Regions from separate parts of the Homo sapiens genome. Here regions 2 and 3 are each linked to region 1. Evidence: promoter capture Hi-C in 16 types of primary human blood cells and fetal thymus (Javierre and others, 2016). All regions are on one chromosome and are shown on one strand. Each heading gives the region's core, a stretch centred on a gene start or on the middle of the fragment in contact. The rest is flanking DNA. Distances are from core to core; before and after follow the strand shown.

Region 1 (3,177 bases), core at 231-2,730:
CTTCTGACAGATTCAAATTCAAATAAAAAGATTGTGCATAAACACATCTGCAGCCTACAGTCAGCCCCCAAGACTACGAACCTCCAACCCTCAATATCTGATATCCTGCTAAGTGTTGAGAGTAATGACAGGAAGAATGTGTCTAAGATAAAAGGGGATTGTTTCAACACAAGGTAAAATGTAGTTTGAAAGGGAGAAATTAAACACAACAGGACTTGAAGATCCCTGGGTTCTCATGCTAGATGGCTGACACAGTCATTCACCTGGCAAAGAATGGATAGAGTGAGAAATGCTGAAGGAAACAAAAGACTGGACATAGTGTGTAAGAAAATACAGATCAGACAGAGTAAAACTGCCAACTTGAAAACCCACCCACACCTTCAGCCCTGTGTGTCACCTCTATGTGTTCTACACCAACATATGCACCACCATTCCATCCTAATAATAATATTATAGCTAGCACTCATCAGGACTGTGCTGAGTGCCCACATTTTGCCAACAGCTGAGCATTATCTCATTTAACTCTCAAAATAATCTCTTGACATAAGTCCTAATATCATCTTCATTTGACTAATGGATAAAATGAGATTCAAGGAAGTTAGATTAAGACCAGTGTCTCCCAAGTAGTAAATGTTAGGGCTTATGAGTTAATACAAATCTACCTCTTCTTAGAGTCCTAGATTTTATACCCAATGCTATATCTTCTCTGCAGAATTGGCTTTGTTGGTTGCACATGACATTAATGCTGCATTTATTCCACTTCATCTAGTATGCATTTATTTGTGCATTGCTCTACTATGCAACTTCATATGTTATGCTTGGTATAATAGATAGAATGAGTACATATAAATAGATTAACATTTAAAATAATTCAAATTCATTAAAAGAATTTTAATTCTTTTAATTTAGGTTGGGAACCACCCTGATTGTGTCTAAAGCTTGGTTCTATCTACTGGTGCTTGTGTAATCTTGAATAAATTATTCAAACTCTTTTTTTCTACCAAGATACTTCATGTATAAATTGGCAATAATAACTAATTAAATAATAGGATTAATGAGAGAATTCTATGAGGATGTACATATAAAGCATCTGGCATGAGACAACTATAAGTGTGTTTAAGATGTTAGATTCAAAAAACATATTATTTGGGAGATAGATTCACTTCAGGCATGTGACATTGGACAACTCATTATTCCCTTCCTATGACTCCATTTACTCAGACACAAAATTAAGAAGCTGGAAAGATGATCCACGAAGACCCTTTTTCTTCAAAAGTCTATTACTGTATAGATAAGTTATCCACTAAATTGTGTTTTCATATCCATAATTTTGATCTAGGAAATATAGAAAACAAATCATTGCTATAATAAAATAACACATACATTTCAGTTTTGTGCAACTCTGTTTTGTTCATCACAGGGTTTTTCTTTTTTATCTCTCCTTGCTACAGAGTATCTTGTGATTCTAAAATAACATCCATGGAGAATAATACAGAGGTGAGTGAATTCATCCTGCTTGGTCTAACCAATGCCCCAGAACTACAGGTTCCCCTCTTTATCATGTTTACCCTCATCTACCTCATCACTCTGACTGGGAACCTGGGGATGATCATATTAATCCTGCTGGACTCTCATCTCCACACTCCCATGTACTTTTTTCTCAGTAACCTGTCTCTTGCAGGCATTGGTTACTCCTCAGCTGTCACTCCAAAGGTTTTAACTGGGTTGCTTATAGAAGACAAAGCCATCTCCTACAGTGCCTGTGCTGCTCAGATGTTCTTTTGTGCAGTCTTTGCCACTGTGGAAAATTACCTCTTGTCCTCAATGGCCTATGACCGCTACGCAGCAGTGTGTAACCCCCTACATTATACCACCACCATGACAACACGTGTGTGTGCTTGTCTGGCTATAGGCTGTTATGTCATTGGTTTTCTGAATGCTTCTATCCAAATTGGAGATACATTTCGCCTCTCTTTCTGCATGTCCAATGTGATTCATCACTTTTTCTGTGACAAACCAGCAGTCATTACTCTGACCTGCTCTGAGAAACACATTAGTGAGTTGATTCTTGTTCTTATATCAAGTTTTAATGTCTTTTTTGCACTTCTTGTTACCTTGATTTCCTATCTGTTCATATTGATCACCATTCTTAAGAGGCACACAGGTAAGGGATACCAGAAGCCTTTATCTACCTGTGGTTCTCACCTCATTGCCATTTTCTTATTTTATATAACTGTCATCATCATGTACATACGACCAAGTTCCAGTCATTCCATGGACACAGACAAAATTGCATCTGTGTTCTACACTATGATCATCCCCATGCTCAGTCCTATAGTCTATACCCTGAGGAACAAAGACGTGAAGAATGCATTCATGAAGGTTGTTGAGAAGGCAAAATATTCTCTAGATTCAGTCTTTTAATGATGCAAAATCATCACAATGTTATTTTATCTCACTTAGATCTACTTTATACAATAACTCAAATGTTAAAATGCTATATGGTATATAGAATGTAAAATTTCATCTAATATTATTTTTGTCTTTAGTTGAGAAACAGTTCTAAGTATCCACGAGTTAGAAAAATACGATGACAATTTCTCATGGAGTTTAATGAAATATGTGTTGTCTCTTGTCATATTTTAGCCAACTATGAGTCATTACTGTTTCTTAATAAACTAATATTTCAGGCATTAATAATTTTAGGTATTTGGTACAGCTTGTTCATATGACAATTTATAAATGGTAAATAACTATATTAGAATAATAATATATTAGAATTAAAAGGCAGAGATAATTCTTTTTTTTTTAAACTTAGCCTATGACTATCAAAGACATCTTGAACTGAGAGAAAGAAATAAAAGAATCTCTGTTTGCTATTTAAAATATAAAATCATGACCTGGCCCAGTGGCTCATGCCTGTAATCCCAGCACTTTGAGAGGCCAAGGCAGGTGGATCACTTGAGGTCAGGAGTTCAAAACCAGGCGAGACAACGTGATGAAACCCTGTCTCAACGAAAAATACAAAAAAATTAGCCAGACATGGTGGTGGATGCCTGTAGTTCCAGCTACTTGGGAGGCTGAGGCAGGAGAATCGCTTGAACCCAGGAGGCGGAGGTTGCAGTGAGCTGAGATCGTGCCGTTGGACTCCAGCCTGGGTGACAGAGCGAGACTCCG
Region 2 (3,177 bases), core at 421-2,920, 150 kb after region 1:
CTGAATGGAAAGAAAATCTTTGAGAGATAAGTGATGTTGGAGATAGGTAGAAGAGAGGGATAAAATGAGAGGGAGACAATGTTAGGAGAGTAGAAAGAGGGACAAATGTCTCTTTGTTCCCAAGCTGAAATTATTTCCAATAAATCACAAGGAAAATCATACTAGGTCCAGTCTCTCTTCCCTTCTCCTGGATGACACCTTGTGAGAGCCGTTTACCTTTCTGGCCACTTAAGGTTTTAAAAATGTTTAACTTTGATACTGAAGACCCATTTCCAGGTATTAAAAAACCAAGTCCAGCCCAATTTTAAACTTCAGCTTCACTATCAATTCAAAGCATGGGTCCTACCTTGTAAGTTCAGATCTGATGTGTAGCTTGGGTCATACAGTGGAAAGGTGGGAGCATATGTTCTTCCCTTGCTCTTTGGCCTCTCTTCCCGCAAAACCGTTGTTGTTACTATTGTTGTTGTTGTTTTAGTCATTTTGGTCTTTCCTTCTTTTTCAGTTTTATCAGGTCAGGGAGGAAGAATGGGGATGGGAAAAAAGGCAAAAGTGTTCATATCTGTTGCCATAGATACTAGCAGCTTGTGCCTTATATGTGGCAGGCATGGTGTCTCTTGAGATCATTTTGAGGATTGTCAGAGGCTCCCTTTTGGAGACTGCCCCATTATGCGGTTCCCTGACAAGGGCAATGAATTATGTCCCTGATCTCTTTAAGATCTCTCTTTCAAAAGAGACCCACCTCATGGTTTCTTATTGCTACAGCCTCCTCTGCCCCAATAGGCTGTCTCTGGATTGGAATCTCAACAAGGTGACTTGACTCCAATGACCTCCTATAGCATCACGTGTCCTATGGGAAATTCACATATTTATGCCATGTCATGGGTGAAAATGCAGATTGCCCTACTAACCACCATCTTTTCCCTCTACCCTGCCATCACGACCTGATCCAGTGAGCCCCTCACCTTTAGAAATGAGAGGCAAACAGAAGTCTTTAAGTGTATCTGTGCCCCCTAAATTTTCTTGAAGCTAATATCTAGCCACAGATGAAGTAAAACCCTGATTGCTCCTACTTGTACTTATTCTCCAAAAGCACTTGTTTTGGAGTTCTCCCCCGGCGTTAATGGGATGAAGCACCCACACAATGGTGTACACTCCCATAGCCATTCCTAACCCTTAGTTGTGTTTCCTTCTCCAGTCTCTTCACTTTTACGAGACTTGAAATTTCTCCTTTCTTAGATTTAAGGCATAAAGTTGAACAAGGGAGATGATTTGGGGACCAGTTTGGTAACTTTTAAGTAATTCCTGCACATGTACCTAACATCTCTAGAATATAGGGTATGCCTCACCTATGATCCTCAGTTTGGGGGATTTAACCTACATTTAGAACCAACTGGGAAAATCACATTCAGAATTCTGTTAGAGTTTAAAACATGTTCATTGAGAAGAATCTGCCATGTCCTGTCTTTTTCTGTGGCATTTTCCAAATCTCTGCACTGCTGAAATACTTCCTTATTAAGTAGCACTTCCACTTAATAAGCAGAAGAAGCTTTATTGCTCATCAGCTTAAAGGAAGTGCCTTACTGTAATGGCTGCAGCCAAATGACACCATGTTAAATTTTCTTGTAGGTGTATGAAGACTTTGTGTTCCTTTCTTCAGATCAGCAGAAATATGCATCAAGAAAACCAAACCACCATCACTGAATTCATTCTCCTGGGACTCTCCAACCAGGCTGAACATCAAAACCTCCTCTTTGTGCTTTTCCTGAGTATGTATGTGGTCACTGTGGTTGGGAACGGGCTCATCATTGTGGCTATCAGCTTGGATATATACCTTCACACCCCCATGTATCTCTTCCTTGCCTACCTATCCTTTGCTGATATTTCCTCCATTTCCAACTCAGTCCCCAAAATGCTGGTGAATATTCAAACCAACAGCCAATCCATCTCTTATGAGAGCTGCATCACACAGATGTACTTTTCTATTGTGTTTGTCGTCACTGACAATTTGCTTTTGGGGACCATGGCCTTCGACCACTTTGTGGCGATCTGCCACCCTCTGAACTATACAACTTTCATGCGGGCCAGGTTCGGCACTTTGCTCACAGTCATCTCGTGGTTCCTCAGTAATATTATTGCTCTTACACACACCCTTCTGCTCATTCAATTGCTCTTCTGTGACCACAACACTCTCCCACACTTCTTCTGTGACTTGGCCCCTCTGCTCAAACTGTCCTGTTCAGATACAATGATCAATGAGCTTGTGTTGTTTATTGTGGGTTTATCAGTTATCATCTTCCCCTTTGTACTCATCTTCTTCTCCTATGTCTGCATCATCAGAGCTGTCCTGGGAGTATCATCCACACAGGGAAAGTGGAAAGCCTTCTCCACTTGTGGCTCTCACCTGACAATTGCATTACTGTTCTACGGAACCACTGTAGGCGTGTACTTTTTCCCCTCCTCCACTCACCCTGAGGACACTGATAAGATTGGTGCTGTCCTATTCACTGTGGTGACACCCATGATGAACCCCTTCATCTACAGCTTGAGGAATAAGGATATGAAAGGTGCCCTGAGAAAGCTCATCAATAGAAAAATTTCTTCCCTTTGATGCCCTGGACATCTACATTCTTTTAGTCCACATAATCAGATAAATGATTCAGCCCAGAGTGTATGACACAGTTGTGACGGTTCAACTTTTGATGAACTTGCAGATGTCTGTCTCCTATTCCAACCTCTAAGGGGATTGGAGCTTTTCCACTTAGCTCTTGTCTTGGAAACAAAATCTGTAACTGCCATGGTAAGTCACAAGAATAACACGCATCCTTAGAGAGTAGATTGGTGGTTACCAGGGCCCAGTAGCAGAGAAGTGGAGTGGAGTTGAATAGAGGTTGATTAATGGGTACAACAATACAGTTAGATAGAAGAAATAAGACCTATTGTTTGATAAATCATTATGGGGCACTATGGTAAACAGTAATCTATTATATATTTCAAAATAGCTAAAAGAGAATAATTCCAATGTTCCCAGCATAAAGAAAAGATAAATGTTTAAGGTTATGGATATCCTAATCCCCTAATTTGATTATTACACATTATATGAATGTATCAAAATATAAGATGTTCCCCATAACTATGGAGGACAATTTATCAATAAAAATACATGTATTGATAAATTAA
Region 3 (3,177 bases), core at 342-2,841, 130 kb after region 1:
AGCAACTCATAGTCTTTGTTGAGGGATTTTTAAAATTATATTTAGAATGAAATAATTCCTAAGCCCTTCCAAATCTGAGAAAGTCTTTCTGTTGCTTTTGAACATAAATCACTAAGGCTTTGATACAGAATTCTTTCACTCCAATTTGTTTTTCTTAAAATTCTGTAGATATTTTGTATTGTCTCTTAAATTTTTGTATTAAAAATAAAGTTGTAGTCTAACCTGAAAGTGCTTAATTCACAGGTATTTTTAACTTCCCAGATGCTTGCAAAGGTCTTTCTTATTCTCTTGATTATGTTAATGCATAATTCAATTGTGCTATTGCATTTTTAGTTTCCTCATTGTCTTTTCTTATCTCAGGAAGCTCCACTTTAATTTTAACCTGACTCTGTTCACTTCCCTTTCATTTGAAACTATTTGAGTCCAAAAGTTTAGCTTCCTGTTGGAAATTTAGATAAAATGTTCAAAAGAGAGGAAATATATGAAGAGTACATATCAGAAAAGATTGTAACAATGGGTGTTTTCCTACTTGTATGTGGAGTCAAAATAACTGAATGTAAAGTGAATAACTTATAGCCATAAAGCAATGGAAAGAACAAAGGATTGATTCAGAACAACAAGAATAACCTTTGCAGACATAATGTTGAAGCCAGTTACAATAAAGTACATGCTTTAGCATTTCATATATAAGTTGAAACATAGTTACATCAATCTGTAATGATAAAAGTCAAAAAGTGGTTACTTTTGTGAAGCATAAAGACTGAGAACATGAAGGATGTTTGTAGGTCACTGGAATCGTTCTATTTCTTAATCTTTGTAGTGGTTATACTGGCGTATTTACGATGTTAAAATAAATAAACAAATCAAGCTTCACACTTAGGATTTGTGAATTCCTCCACATGTATGTTATATTTCAATGAGAGTGCTTACTGAAAAAAGTAAAAGACAAATTCATTTATCTAATTTTAAAATATGTGCAACCATACAACTCTTCACTGTAATTAAATACAAGCAAAATAATTAAGTCTTATCAATTGGATTGAAAATATCGGGGTGGGGGGAGATATTTCACAAGGAACATCTACATGTGTCTACATGTCTTGCCCCCAGGAATTTCTGCAGATGACTGTCTATCCCATTCATGAGGATTTCCAAGGAAAAGTATACCAAACCCTATATCGTGAATTCATTCTCATGCACCGTGATTGGAAACTAGCTACTAAATAGTTAATTCCAAATAAAATTGTACACTCCTGCTTTTACTAAAGAAATAAAGCGGCCGGGCGCGGTGGCTCACGCCTGTAATCCCAGCACTTTGGGAGGCCGAGGCGGGCGGATCACGAGGTCAGGAGATCGAGACCATCCCGGCTAAAACGGTGAAACCCGGTCTCTACTTAAAAAAATACAAAAAAATTAGCCGGGCGTAGTGGCAGGCGCCTGTAGTCCCAGCTACTTGGGAGGCTGAGGCAGGAGAATGGCGTGAACCCGGGAGGCGGAGCTTGCAGTGAGCCGAGATCCCGCCACTGCACTCCAGCCTGGGCGACAGAGCGAGACTCCGTCTCAAAAAGAAAAAAAAGAAATAAAGCAACTCAGCCAAGAAGAGCTCAGCGCGTCCTATTCTTTTGCATAAGACATGCCTGTGGGGAAACTTGTCTTCAACCAGTCTGAGCCCACTGAGTTTGTGTTCCGTGCGTTCACCACAGCCACTGAATTCCAGGTTCTTCTCTTCCTTCTCTTCCTCCTCCTCTACTTGATGATCCTCTGTGGCAACACAGCCATCATCTGGGTGGTGTGCACACACAGCACCCTCCGCACCCCGATGTATTTCTTCCTGTCCAACCTGTCTTTCCTGGAACTCTGCTACACCACCGTGGTAGTACCCTTGATGCTTTCCAACATTTTGGGGGCCCAGAAGCCCATTTCGTTGGCTGGATGTGGGGCCCAAATGTTCTTCTTTGTCACCCTCGGCAGCACGGACTGTTTCCTCTTGGCGATCATGGCCTATGACCGCTATGTGGCTATCTGCCACCCGCTGCACTACACCCTCATCATGACCCGCGAGCTGTGCACGCAGATGCTGGGTGGGGCCCTGGGCCTGGCCCTCTTCCCCTCCCTGCAGCTCACCGCCTTAATCTTCACCCTGCCCTTTTGCGGCCACCACCAGGAAATCAACCACTTCCTCTGCGATGTGCCTCCCGTCCTGCGCCTGGCCTGCGCTGACATCCGCGTGCACCAGGCTGTCCTCTATGTCGTGAGCATCCTCGTGCTGACCATCCCCTTCCTGCTCATCTGCGTCTCCTACGTGTTCATCACCTGTGCCATCCTGAGCATCCGTTCTGCCGAGGGCCGCCGCCGGGCCTTCTCCACCTGCTCCTTCCACCTCACCGTGGTCCTGCTGCAGTATGGCTGCTGCAGCCTCGTGTACCTGCGTCCTCGGTCCAGCACCTCAGAGGATGAGGACAGCCAAATCGCGTTGGTCTACACCTTTGTCACCCCCTTACTCAACCCTTTGCTTTACAGCCTTAGGAACAAGGATGTCAAAGGTGCTCTGAGGAGTGCCATTATCCGTAAAGCAGCCTCTGACGCCAACTGAAGGCTTAGGGGCACTGGGCTGGGTGTCTGTCTGTTGCTGTGTCAAAGAACTCTAAATGACACAGAACTGTAGTACTTTCTCACACTGTGCACTTGATGTTTCTTTTTTGCCATATTTGCCCCAAGTTCACAATTCATGCTCATTTTTCTGAAGTGCTTTGACTAAGATATGAAAATTTGGACAGAACTTACAGCGTAGGAATGCTAGTTTACTTAGCTCTACTTTAAGGATTTGCAGCTCACCTATGTCAATTGCCATATTAGGAACACCCCATACATACTGTGAATAAAGGCTGATAGGCATGCTGCCTCCTGGGGAGATGATGTAATTTACCCTGTGAAAGTTGCCTTAAGTAAGGAATATTCATAAAGACATATTTTGCTCAAATAAACACATTTTATTATTGTTTTGGGTATCAGTATATGACAAACAATAGCTTACTTAATGCATTAATTTCCTTTGCACCATACATCCCAACTGGTTGCTTTCATTTTCTTCATGCCAGAAAGGGGCTAGGAATTTTCTTTCATTGACTAATCACCTACTATGTACCAGCCTTGCTAGGGTATGGAGAATTACCTCTG

Evidence for each region. The method cuts DNA at HindIII sites, captures the fragments that hold promoters and counts their contacts. A CHiCAGO score of 5 or more calls a contact.
Region 2: the fragment with the promoter of OR1S2 here is called in contact with the fragment with the promoter of OR5B17 in region 1 in 4 of 17 cell types (M2 macrophages, neutrophils, monocytes and 1 more); the score reaches 5.9 in M2 macrophages.
Region 3: a contact is called between the fragment with the promoter of OR10Q1 here and the fragment with the promoter of OR5B17 in region 1, in 4 of 17 cell types (neutrophils, M2 macrophages, monocytes and 1 more). The highest score is 8.3, in neutrophils.

What each region holds. Positions count from the first base shown.
Region 1 is chr11:58,357,372-58,360,548 of GRCh38, reverse strand. It overlaps OR5B17 (olfactory receptor family 5 subfamily B member 17), which reads left to right and starts at 1,480. Exons shown (of 1, transcript NM_001005489.2): 1 at 1,480-2,425. The coding sequence starts at 1,480. The coding sequence ends at 2,424. The HindIII fragment of the contact is 4,652 bases long and covers 941-3,177 here.
Region 2 is chr11:58,202,635-58,205,811 of GRCh38, reverse strand. OR1S2 (olfactory receptor family 1 subfamily S member 2) reads left to right here and starts at 1,670. Exons shown (of 1, transcript NM_001004459.2): 1 at 1,670-2,608. The coding sequence starts at 1,670. The coding sequence ends at 2,608. The HindIII fragment of the contact is 6,408 bases long and covers 1,549-3,177 here.
Region 3 is chr11:58,227,332-58,230,508 of GRCh38, reverse strand. OR10Q1 (olfactory receptor family 10 subfamily Q member 1) reads left to right here and starts at 1,591. Exons shown (of 1, transcript NM_001004471.2): 1 at 1,591-2,627. The coding sequence starts at 1,634. The coding sequence ends at 2,593. The HindIII fragment of the contact is 6,807 bases long and covers 871-3,177 here.